Regions from separate parts of the Homo sapiens genome. Here regions 1 and 2 are each linked to region 3. The links are contacts of gene promoters, found by promoter capture Hi-C in blood cells and fetal thymus (Javierre and others, 2016). All regions are on one chromosome and are shown on one strand. The core of a region is centred on a gene start or on the middle of the fragment in contact, and the rest is flanking DNA. Distances in the headings are between cores, read along the strand shown. Region 1 holds the start of ZDHHC17 (zDHHC palmitoyltransferase 17). Region 2 overlaps TMTC3 (transmembrane O-mannosyltransferase targeting cadherins 3). Region 3 holds the start of CCDC59 (coiled-coil domain containing 59).

The links. The method cuts DNA at HindIII sites, captures the fragments that hold promoters and counts their contacts. A CHiCAGO score of 5 or more calls a contact.
Region 1: the fragment with the promoter of ZDHHC17 here is called in contact with the fragment with the promoter of CCDC59 in region 3 in 9 of 17 cell types (non-activated CD4 T cells, total B cells, naive CD8 T cells and 6 more); the score reaches 15.7 in non-activated CD4 T cells.
Region 2: a contact is called between a fragment that was not itself captured here and the fragment with the promoter of CCDC59 in region 3, in 3 of 17 cell types (non-activated CD4 T cells, total CD8 T cells and total B cells). The highest score is 11.0, in non-activated CD4 T cells.

The regions. Positions count from the first base shown.
Region 1 is chr12:76,762,271-76,765,809 of GRCh38, reverse strand. It overlaps ZDHHC17 (zDHHC palmitoyltransferase 17), which reads right to left and starts at 1,695. Exons shown (of 17, transcript NM_015336.4): 1 at 1,481-1,695. The coding sequence starts at 1,573. RefSeq lists enhancers at 1,348-1,497, 689-1,531, 1,507-1,801, 2,098-2,197 and a silencer at 1,548-1,957. The HindIII fragment of the contact is 3,524 bases long and covers 1-3,029 here.
Region 2 is chr12:88,147,671-88,150,801 of GRCh38, reverse strand. It overlaps TMTC3 (transmembrane O-mannosyltransferase targeting cadherins 3), which reads right to left. Exons shown (of 14, transcript NM_181783.4): 2 at 2,298-2,514. The coding sequence starts at 2,486. Among named protein-coding and RNA genes, the nearest start is that of TMTC3, 6.9 kb to the right of the region's middle. The HindIII fragment of the contact is 2,350 bases long and covers 627-2,976 here.
Region 3 is chr12:82,356,898-82,360,404 of GRCh38, reverse strand. CCDC59 (coiled-coil domain containing 59) reads left to right here and starts at 2,018. Exons shown (of 4, transcript NM_014167.5): 1 at 2,018-2,182; 2 at 3,136-3,445. The coding sequence starts at 2,029. METTL25 (methyltransferase like 25) reads right to left here and starts at 1,876. Exons shown (of 12, transcript NM_032230.3): 1 at 1,581-1,876. The coding sequence starts at 1,839. RefSeq lists enhancers at 1,088-1,648, 1,579-2,138, 1,649-2,209. The HindIII fragment of the contact is 1,548 bases long and covers 706-2,253 here.

The DNA.
Region 1 (3,539 bases), core at 446-2,945, 5.6 Mb after region 3:
AGGATCACTTGAGCCCTGGAGGTAGAGGCTGCAGTGAGCTGTCATCGTGTCAGTGCACTCCTGCCTGGGGGACAGGGAGAAACCCCGTCTCAAAAAAATAAACTGGATAAACACTTAAGTGTTTGAAATACTTTCACGAATACTTTCACAGGAACAGATGAATAGAAATCACTTAGCAACATTTTCAAGGCAACATCTGAAAACTACTTTGTCTATTTCCTGACGTATGTTAGGGCCTAAGTGAACCAAAAGAGATGTCTACAATGCCAGTTCTGAAAATGTTACCACTTTGGTCAGACAAGTGTTTAGTCTTACTGTATAGTTCTGTTTATCAGAAACCCAGAGTAGCCTTTTCTACTGAGACTGGCACAGGTATATATTCCGAAGGAACTGTCCCATGTGTTTTTGATAAACCAAAGTGACGAATGAGAGGGTGGTTGAGTGTTAACATGCAACATAAAAGGATGGTTGTCATTATTCACTTTTTAACAAAAACTAGTGGCATGGTACAAACCCAAATCCAGAAAAAAACAGAATCACTCCATTGCAAAGTAACCAGGTAGAGACTTCCATGTTTGTTCATCCTACAACACGACTGTCATCTTTTAACCTCATGAAAACTACCCGAGTTCTTCAGCAAACTGTGCCGCTGCCGCATACAGACATCACTGTGGATCACTAAAAATCAGAATGCATCAAGAATTGCTTCCAAGCCTTAACTAGCACTAGCTCAGCTACAAACTCGGAGGTAAACAAGCACAGACTGACTGACTGTGGAGCGGGGCACTGTTTACTTACATGGGAAGACACTCATGTTGTGATGGGAAACGTGTTGCACTGTCCACCCCTAGCTCCTAGAAAAACGGTACTTTGACAAGCTAATGTGAGTGTAAGTCTATTCCCAAAAGTTTTTACCTCTCTTCTTAATCGCTTAAGGACAAATGCTCAAAAAAGGACGCCCGACACAAGGTGCCCGAGGTGCTACCCATGGCATTACCTGGAAGGACATCACTATGCCCATGAAACTGTCCCCTCACAGTGGACTAAAAGGAAGCAATAGATACCGTCATTCACCCTGGCGAAGGAAAAAGAAATCAAAACCAGACGCGCTTCCACCTGGCCCCAAGAGGCTTGGAGCAAGACTAGGGTCTAAGCTGCGGTTCAAAAACCACACCAGGCCCCTCCGCCTCTGCTCTCAAACGCAGCGCGGCGACACAGCAGAACCATCAACACCTCCACCTCTGTCCTCCAGGCACAGCCAGGGACTGCGTCCCAGAGCCCGCCCCGGTCGGGCCCGCCCCGCTATCTCCTCCCCCGTTATCCGCTCGCAGCCGCGCTCAGGCCTGGATTCGCCTCCCCACCCTCCCCAACTTCGGCACGTCCCACTACCCCACACACGTCGGCCGCCGCCCTCGGCGAGTCCGGGGAAGAAAGGCTGGAGGGCCGCAGGGCAAGGAATCCACTCAGCACGGTTCCTCACCTCTGGGTGGAGAAGGGGCACACAGCCCGCTTCGGTATCGTACTCATCCGGGCCGTCCGCCATCTTGGTGTTAAATCCCTCCTCCCGCTGCATGCTGGGAGAAAGCGTTTCACCCTCCCGGGGCTCGGGCGAGGCGGAGGGCGAGCGCGGGGCGAGCGCGAGCCCCGCCGGAGGCGACGCGGGCCTCCTCCTCCTTCTTCTCCTGCCCCCGTGACGCCCCCTCTGTCCCCTCCCCCCTCGGAGGGCGCGGGTTTCTCCGCGCGTGCGCGGAAGCGCGGCCCGGCCCCAGACTGGATCGCGCTCTGCTGCACTGCGCTGGGGACGGCGGAGGGCTCTGGGCGTGGGCCCCGCGGCTCGGGGGCGGGTCCCGGCTGGAGGTAGATGTGAAGCTCTGGCTGCCCGGGGGAGGCGGCCGGGCGGTTGAGACAGTCGCTTGGGAAACCTAGCAGCTGCTCAGGAGCGAGAACAGAGCTCCGGAGCCGCACGCAGCACAAGTCTGGAGCCCCAGGCAGCCGAGGAGCCCACGCCCACGCGCTCCCACTTCCGCTCCGGGACCCCCGGGACCCCTCTTCAGGAACTCGGGCAGAGTCGTCAGCCAGCTCCAGGGAGGTTTGGGCCCGTCAGGCTTGAGTCGAGACCTGCATCATTCCTGAAGACAAAAGCAGCTTCCCTTTCCTCCACACTTGAAAAGGTCACCCGCAACCTGTCCCTCCGGGGGACGCCCGGAAAAACATGGATACAACTCGGGACTTCCTACTAGAGAACCCTTTTTTTTTTTTTTTTTTTTTTTTTTTTTTTTTTAATGAGACAGAGTTTTGCTCTTGCCGCCCAGGCGGGAGTGCAATGGCGCGATCTCAGCTCACTGCAACCTCTGCCTCCCGGTTCAAGCGATTCTCCTGCCTCAGCCTCCCGAGTAGCTGGAATTACAGGTGCACGCCACCACGCCCGGCTAATTTTTGTATTTTTAGTAGAGACGGGTTTTCACCATGTTGGCCAGGCTAGTCTCGAACTCCTGACCTTAAGCGATCCGCCCGCCTCGGCCTCCCAAAGTGCTGGGATTACAGGCTTGAGTCACCACACCCTGCCGAGAACTCTTTTTAAAATGATCCCAACCTGCTCTCAATCGTCTTGAATTAGTACCACACAAAAAATTTACGAGCTCAAAGCCCACACACCGCCATCTGCAACATTTCGATATAATCCAGGAATTCAGAACTGAAGCCACTTAAACTGAATTCGCTTAAATGCAAGGCAGATAAAATGACTAAAGCCATTTTTTAAAGGATTTTAGGGCGGTATGGGGGAGGTGCTCCCTGTAAATGGGCTGATGGGACAGTTTTAGATAGCATTTGTCTTTCCTTTTAGCTGTTAAAAATTGTAAGTCTAAACAGCTGAGAATTTAGCAGAGATCATGAAAGTTGACCTATTAGAGATCCTGGTACTTACTAATCTGTCTCCTGTTAGGCCAGAAACCACCAGGAAAAAGCCTGTACTCCGATAACGTCAGGCCAATTTGTAAATCAGGAGGGAGGGCACTCCAAAGGAAGCTTGGAATGCCACTGGAAAAGGAAAGAGGAAGCCTCCTTTGTAAGATTAGTTTCCCGCCAAAGGAGTCTGAGGAGGGTCTAAGGAGAGCCAGAATCAGTTCTGCATGGGACGCCGTTTCCGTGGCGGCATGAAGAAAAGCTGGGATTTACGAGGGATTGGATGCTGTCTTGAGGATACAGCAATTTAGTAATTAGGTACCTCCAGTAATAAAGTAGCAACACTAGTAAGAGCAGCAGTTACTCAAAGAGGGGTGAATATGGCGTGTCATAGCTACTGCACGGCTGTGGGAGAAAGAAGTTTCTCAGTTAACTTTGCTGCTGGCTTTTTCTGTATCTGTCCTCCCAGCACAACTACTTTTTCTCATTTCAGTCCGAGCTGATTTTCATTCTGTTCGTCCTGGCCCAAACTAGGAGTCATCTTTTACAGCTAGATAGTCTCAGGGTCGGCCCTTGGAGCATCGAATTGTTTTCAGTCATATGTTAACATGGACATAAGTCATTTTCACTCAAAA
Region 2 (3,131 bases), core at 552-3,051, 5.8 Mb before region 3:
TGTGGACACGTATCTTCTAGGCTATCATAACTTGATGATATCAATGATTAGATCTTTGAATATGCTAATTCCAGGCTTATCATGAAACCTATGACACCTAAGGATTACCTAGAATAATTTTCCCTAGTGTCACATTTGCCTTCAGGGAGAGAATATGCCCATCAGAAAATACAAGGAAACTACACAACTACACTCTTCACTCTTAATAAACTGTTATTCTAGTTTGTTCATCCATTCTGTCAGAACATATGAGTCTTTTTCTTAGTCCATCTGCTTACGGGCTTTCTGAACAAAATCAAATTTTCAATCTGCAAAGCTGAGAAAATCACTGAACAGATCACTGACACCATGGTATGTGATATGTGTGTGTCCCTGCCCAAATCTTATATCAAAATGTAATCCCCAATATTGGAAGTGGGGCCTGGTGGGAAATGATTGGATTATTAGGGTGGATTTCCTATGAATGGTTTAGCACCACCCCACTTGGTACTGTATTTGCTACAATGAGTTCTTGAGAGAGCTGGCTGTTCAAAACTGTGTAGCACCTCCCACCGTACTCCTCTTGCTCCTGCTTTTGCTATGTGAAGTGCCTGCTCCTGCTTCCCCTTCTGCCATGACTGCAAGCTTCTTGAGGCCTCCCCAGAAGCAGATGCTGCTATGCTTCTTGTACAGCTGACAGAACTGTGAGCCAATAAAACCTCTTTTCTTATATATTACCCTGTCTCAGGTATTTCTTCGTAGCAATACAAGAATAGCCTAATCTAGAAAATGAGACCATTTAATATGGCCAGCTAAACCATCAGTTCAAAACCTCAACATTATGATTAAAATCATAACAGATACTAGCATAAATTGAGGGAATGGACACATAGTTCTGAGGGTCTCTGGAGATCAAAGGTAGGTATAGAGGAGGACAAGCTGTGTAGAATAATGTATAATAGGGCCATATTTTCCCCCTTACTATCAAAAGATTTTTTTTCAAAAGCTAGAATTGGGTGAGAACAAAAAGGCGAATAAAGTCTTCTTACTAAATAAGACAAAATAATTATATGTGCTTGTGATCAGAGGAATGAAAGATTCCATCCCTAACCTTGAGAGGCTTCCAAATTTGGGGAATGGGGAAAGAGGCCACAATGACCGAGAAACATACTGTTAACATTGCAGAGAGTTACATGTTATGTTTCAACAATTTATTCAATATCTATGTGCCAGGTAGTGTAGATAAAATAATTCATTTATTACTTGAGACCTTAAATGACTTATGTTTTTATTCTACTTTTCCACCTGGGAAATTTAGGTTTATTAATATAGAATTTTAGTTTAGAAATCAATATCCCCCAGAAATTTGAAGCATTACTCTCTTTTTTATTTTGGAAAGGAATTATCCTCTTTTACAGATCAGGAAAATTACTTTCCATCTGAAAGATGTATTCTCACCTATTTCACACAGTTAATATATGACATAACTAAAATTAGAATCCATTCTATATGATATCAAGCTGATAAGGGTTTAATCCCAACAGTTTAACAGTGACCTTCAAAACAGTAAAAATACCCTCATAAAAATGAACCATATGGATGAATAAAATATTAAATTATTGAACTAAACTTTTGGGTTCTCGATATATAACCTAAATAACTATTATGTAAGAGATAGGACAAAGATTCAAAATTTGTAATAACCACTTCTTCTGCAAGAGAAATTGGCAATATGTGTACTTACTATTTTTACTCTTAAATTCTTATCTATTTATATTGAAGTTGCCATATTTTAAAATGTTGAAATATATCACATCTCTTTTGCCTTACTCACAAGACAGAAAAAAGAGAAATAAAGTCAATTAGCAAGAAACAGGCATGTATTACACCTATTGCTCTCCCTATACATTTGGTTTTCACATAAATATATATTATTTTTAAGAAGTTAAGCCAAAACTACCTATTGGGTACTATACTCGCTGTCTGGGTGACAGATTGGTACCCCAAACATCAGCATAACGCAATATACCCACGTGACAAATCTGCATATGTAGCCCTGTATCTAAAATAAAAGTTAAAAAAAAAAAAGCAGCAGCCAAGGTACACAGGCAAAGAAATAACCAAGTACTGCTTTAAAGTACTCATCCTCAGCTTCCTGTTCAATTTATTACAAACATGTTACGTTTCATATAAACATTTTAGGGTTAAAAATCTGTAACTGTTGTGATGATAATGTTGATAAAGAATTAGAAGTAATAAAATACCAGAATATTTCAAAATCTGAGACATGTACAAGTAATATGTAAGTAATTACTTACCTCAGACATAGGGGTTCCCCAGAAGTCATTTTGAAATAAAGTTTTTAAAGGTGTAGATGGATGCAAGTCTTTGTTATCCAGTATTGCTGAAACATCATCAAAAACAAAACCACAAAAGAGGCTGTTCCAATAGCAGGCAGTAACCACACCTACTATTAAGGTTATTTCTTTTAGGTTAATATTAGCCATCTTTTCTATAAGCACTTCTGGACAAAAACTGGAAAAAAAATCATGAAGATAAAATAAGGAACATATTTATTCCAAGTAAGTTCAATTTTAGTAGGTGGGTAAGTAATTGCATATTAATTCTCCAGAGAAAAGCGCAGCTAAAATGCCATCCACTTCTAAGAAGCATAAGCTAGTCACATTGTTGAAACTCAGCCCCATCTCTTACTGGATAATGTCCCTGATAACGGGGACATTATGTCAGCCCCCTCTCTTACGGGATAAAGCCAAGTAACCTCTCCTATTCCAAGGCAGAAGACTGGAGGTTTCCTCTGTGGATTATTTAAAACATAGGGTCTCTGATAACAGGGAAAAGGCAGCATATTGAAAATAAAGGCTAAGTAAAAAAAAGTCTGTCCATATATTTTAGGTTGAGACCCTCCATCCCTTTTCTACTGGGCACAAAATTCTGTAAAACTTTACAACACTGAAAACAAATAGGATTCTAAAAGCTTCTGGAAATAAAAAAGGTTCCAGAGTAAGGATCAGGAATCAAAAATCTTTTTTTTTTCACCCAAAATGCTGTTAGAAACAAAACAAAACAAAAAATTCCCTTCCAAAATAAAAAAGGAGTAATGCTTCAAACTTCTGAGGCATATTGATTTCTAA
Region 3 (3,507 bases), core at 769-3,268:
CCCTTGCAAATTAACTCCTCAAGTTATAATTCCACAAATCGACAATAACAGAACCTATCTTGCAAGGCTGATGTAAAGATTAAAAGAGAAAATACACATGAAGACACTTAGCACACTACAGGGTATATAGTAAATATCAAATAATCCAATTATTATTAGAATATGTAAGACAATCTGACTCTACCATTGTCTGGAGACCAGGCTAAACACGTATTAAAGTCTTACACTCTAAACTTGAGAGTAGTTTCATTTTATTTATTTAAAACTAACATGAGTAACTCATTAATTCCTCCATTCAACAAATATTCATCCAGTATCTAATGTATGCCAAGTATTTTACCAAGTGCTGGGAATACATCAGTTGACAAGTCAGACAAAGACTCTGCTCTTTTGGAGTTTAAGTAAAATTGTCATATCATAAGTGCCATATATTTATTATGAGAGCAAACTGAAGAAGTGCCTAACTTTTCAATAACAATTACTTAAAAAAACAACAACAGTATTTACCAAGTGCTATTATAAGAGGTCCCTCTAGTGATGCTTTGCATTCAGAGAATGCTCAATGAATAAAGTTCACTAGTAAGGGTAACTTTGGGAAGTCTAGAAGGAAAGTAAAAATCCCAGAAGCCTGTTGGTGTCCATCATTCTACTTCCAAAATATGCTTGCCTGAGAAGAATCTACATTTCTTGAGGGTAGGAAAAGCTTGAGCCTACAAAAATTCAAGACACATATTAGGTACTTTAAAATAGTTTTTAAATGAAATAGTGACTATCCGAATACCATCCTAGTCCAAGATACAATCATCTGTTGTACTACTGAGGTAGTCTCCTAACTGGCCTCTCAGCTTCAGCTTTTGCCCTAGTCTATTCTTCAAATAATTCACAGTTATCTTTTCAAATGTGAATTAGGTCACTATGTTGCCTAAATAATCCCAAGGGTTTCCGTCACACTTAAAATCCAAAATCCTTCCAAGGCCTAGAAAGGCCTGTGCCATCTGGCCTCTGCTTGCCTCCCGTCCTGCACCTGCAGCCCCTCACCTGGCTAGAGCCAAGCCTAGCCTGCGGTTCCCACCGCCTGCAACCCCTCCCTGTGGCTCTGCAGCTAGTGCCTTCTCATGTTCCTGACCTCCTAAATTGAGGCAGCCTCCTTACACAATCCCTACCACATTACACTGTTTTTATTTTCTACTTCATTACCACCACTTGAAATTATCTTTATTAACTGTTGAGTAATCTTCCACCACATGCTGGCATTTATAAAACCTGTGAGAGCACTGCTCCCCTAGTTTCCCTAGCGTCAATTATTATGGAATTACTAGATGAAGGAACTCCCCTGCCCTGTTTCCTGCTTTCTTTAAATTGTGGACATACACAAGCACCCAAAGAAAGAGTGATCCTGATTCCAAAGAACATCCCCACCCCACCCCTCAACTAATCCGACCCCTCCTCGGTTTCCCAGCGGGCCGCCCCGCCTCCGCCGCCACGCACCTGGTTCTGCTGGCTTCCACCAGGGGGCTCGCTTCGTCTGCCGGGACCTTCTCCTCCGCCTCCCTTCCCGCCCCGCCTACCCCACCACCCACCTGCTTCCCACTCTGCTTCCACTAGGGGGCGCGTCTCTGAGGGCAGGGCCTCCGTCTCCGACGCTGACTTCCTCAGCGCAGCCAGCACTGTCTCCGGTGGCAAGTCGACCAGCTCCTCCCACACGGATTCTGTGTAGAAATCCACGGTATGTGCATTGGAAATGGACAGGGCATCCCTCAGGAACTGCAGCAGTCCCTGCAACTTGGCACGCAGCGTGGGCAGGTCCGGGGTCACCGGGAGAGGGCAAGAAGCCGCCATGACGCTCACCCTCCGAGGCTGTAGGTGGCGCAAACATGGCCGTGAGGCGCCAGCTCGGCCCAAATTAGCACAGGCAGGCTCAGTAGAGCTCCGAGCCGGATTCCTTCTGAGCGATTGATTGCTTCGGCTTGGTGACGTATTTTGTGGGCGTCCGTCGTGGTCTTCTGATGACGCAGTTAGTCGGCTGCAATGGCGCCGGTGAGGCGGTCCGCGAAGTGGCGGCCTGGTGGTATTGAGGCGCGTGGTGAAGGGGTTTCCACTGTCGGGTACAGGAATAAGAATGTGAGACAGAAGACATGGCGGCCTAACCACCCGCAAGCCTTCGTGGGGAGCGTTCGCGAGGGTATGTAAGAAGGCAACCATTTGCAAATCCTCAGGCTTGCTAAGTTTTAGGATATAAGATTCGCTGAAGCTTGGAAGAAGGATTTAGGAACCAGACCCGGTCCTACTTGGGGCAAGGGAATTCATTCCTGAGCCCGCTAAAGCTGTGAGCTTCGCAGAGCTCTAGATAGGAAGACGGAGCAGTGTTGCTATTATTTAAACGTCTTTTCTGACGTAACCCTGTATTTCATCAGAACTTTTTTCCTATATTTTTCCTGAGAAACTGAGCAGAGAGAGTCTATGACCCTGTGAACTCTTGCGCATGTGGTAAGGTAAAGGATAGAGAGGAGGACAGGGCCAGAAACACTGCTCCGAATTCTTCCTTATTACAAATACCCGAGGCCCTCCAGCCTTCGCTTTAATTTGTGTTTGTCATTTTGTATTGCTGTCTGTAAGGTCTCTTAGATCCCACTTGGAATATATAAATGTTAAATTCAGTCTTCCGATAATTGCTAGCTTTTCAGACAACCATACACTGTCTTTTTCTTTCGTGTTGAAACATTTTCGAAAACATGTAGTTTGTCCAAGATACTAGATGTGGCATTTTCTTTCCTATTTTTTAAGCATTTATTGAAGGCTCAGATTAAGTGTTTTAGATGAACTAAGGAATTTGTTTTGATTTGTGAATACAGCTGTAAACTCAAGTTGTGCAACAGTCTGAACTGGTCAGTTTTTCTTTGAGATTCTTACTTGGATTTCCGCATGACTGTTAGCCTGGTCTTTTTGCAAAGGGCCAACTTACTATGCAATCCATCAGCTTAAATTTGTTGCTTGAAATAATTTTTTAAAGCAAAATATAATACTAGAATCTGAATGTGATGACGTAAAAAAAGTTTTCATTTGTAATTAACAGCTCCATTCTTCGTTCAACTTCTTTTCTCTGAAAGTAATTTTGGATGATATTCCTCAATGTAGGACAAGGCTTTGCTTTTCGAAGAAAACTGAAAATACAGCAAAGTTACAAGAAATTGCTACGGAAGGAAAAGAAGGCTCAAACGTCACTGGAATCTCAATTCACAGATCGATACCCAGATAATCTGAAACATCTCTATTTAGCTGAAGAGGAAAGACATAGGAAGCAAGCAAGAAAAGTCGACCATCCTTTGTCAGAACAAGTTCACCAGCCGTTGCTTGAAGAACAGTGTAGCATTGACGAGCCTTTATTTGAAGATCAGTGTAGCTTTGACCAGCCTCAGCCAGAAGAACAATGTATTAAAACAGTAAAGTATGTATTTTCTTCATTTGAAATCCTTTAAGTGTTGTTTTATTATTTAAAAGTACTATAGG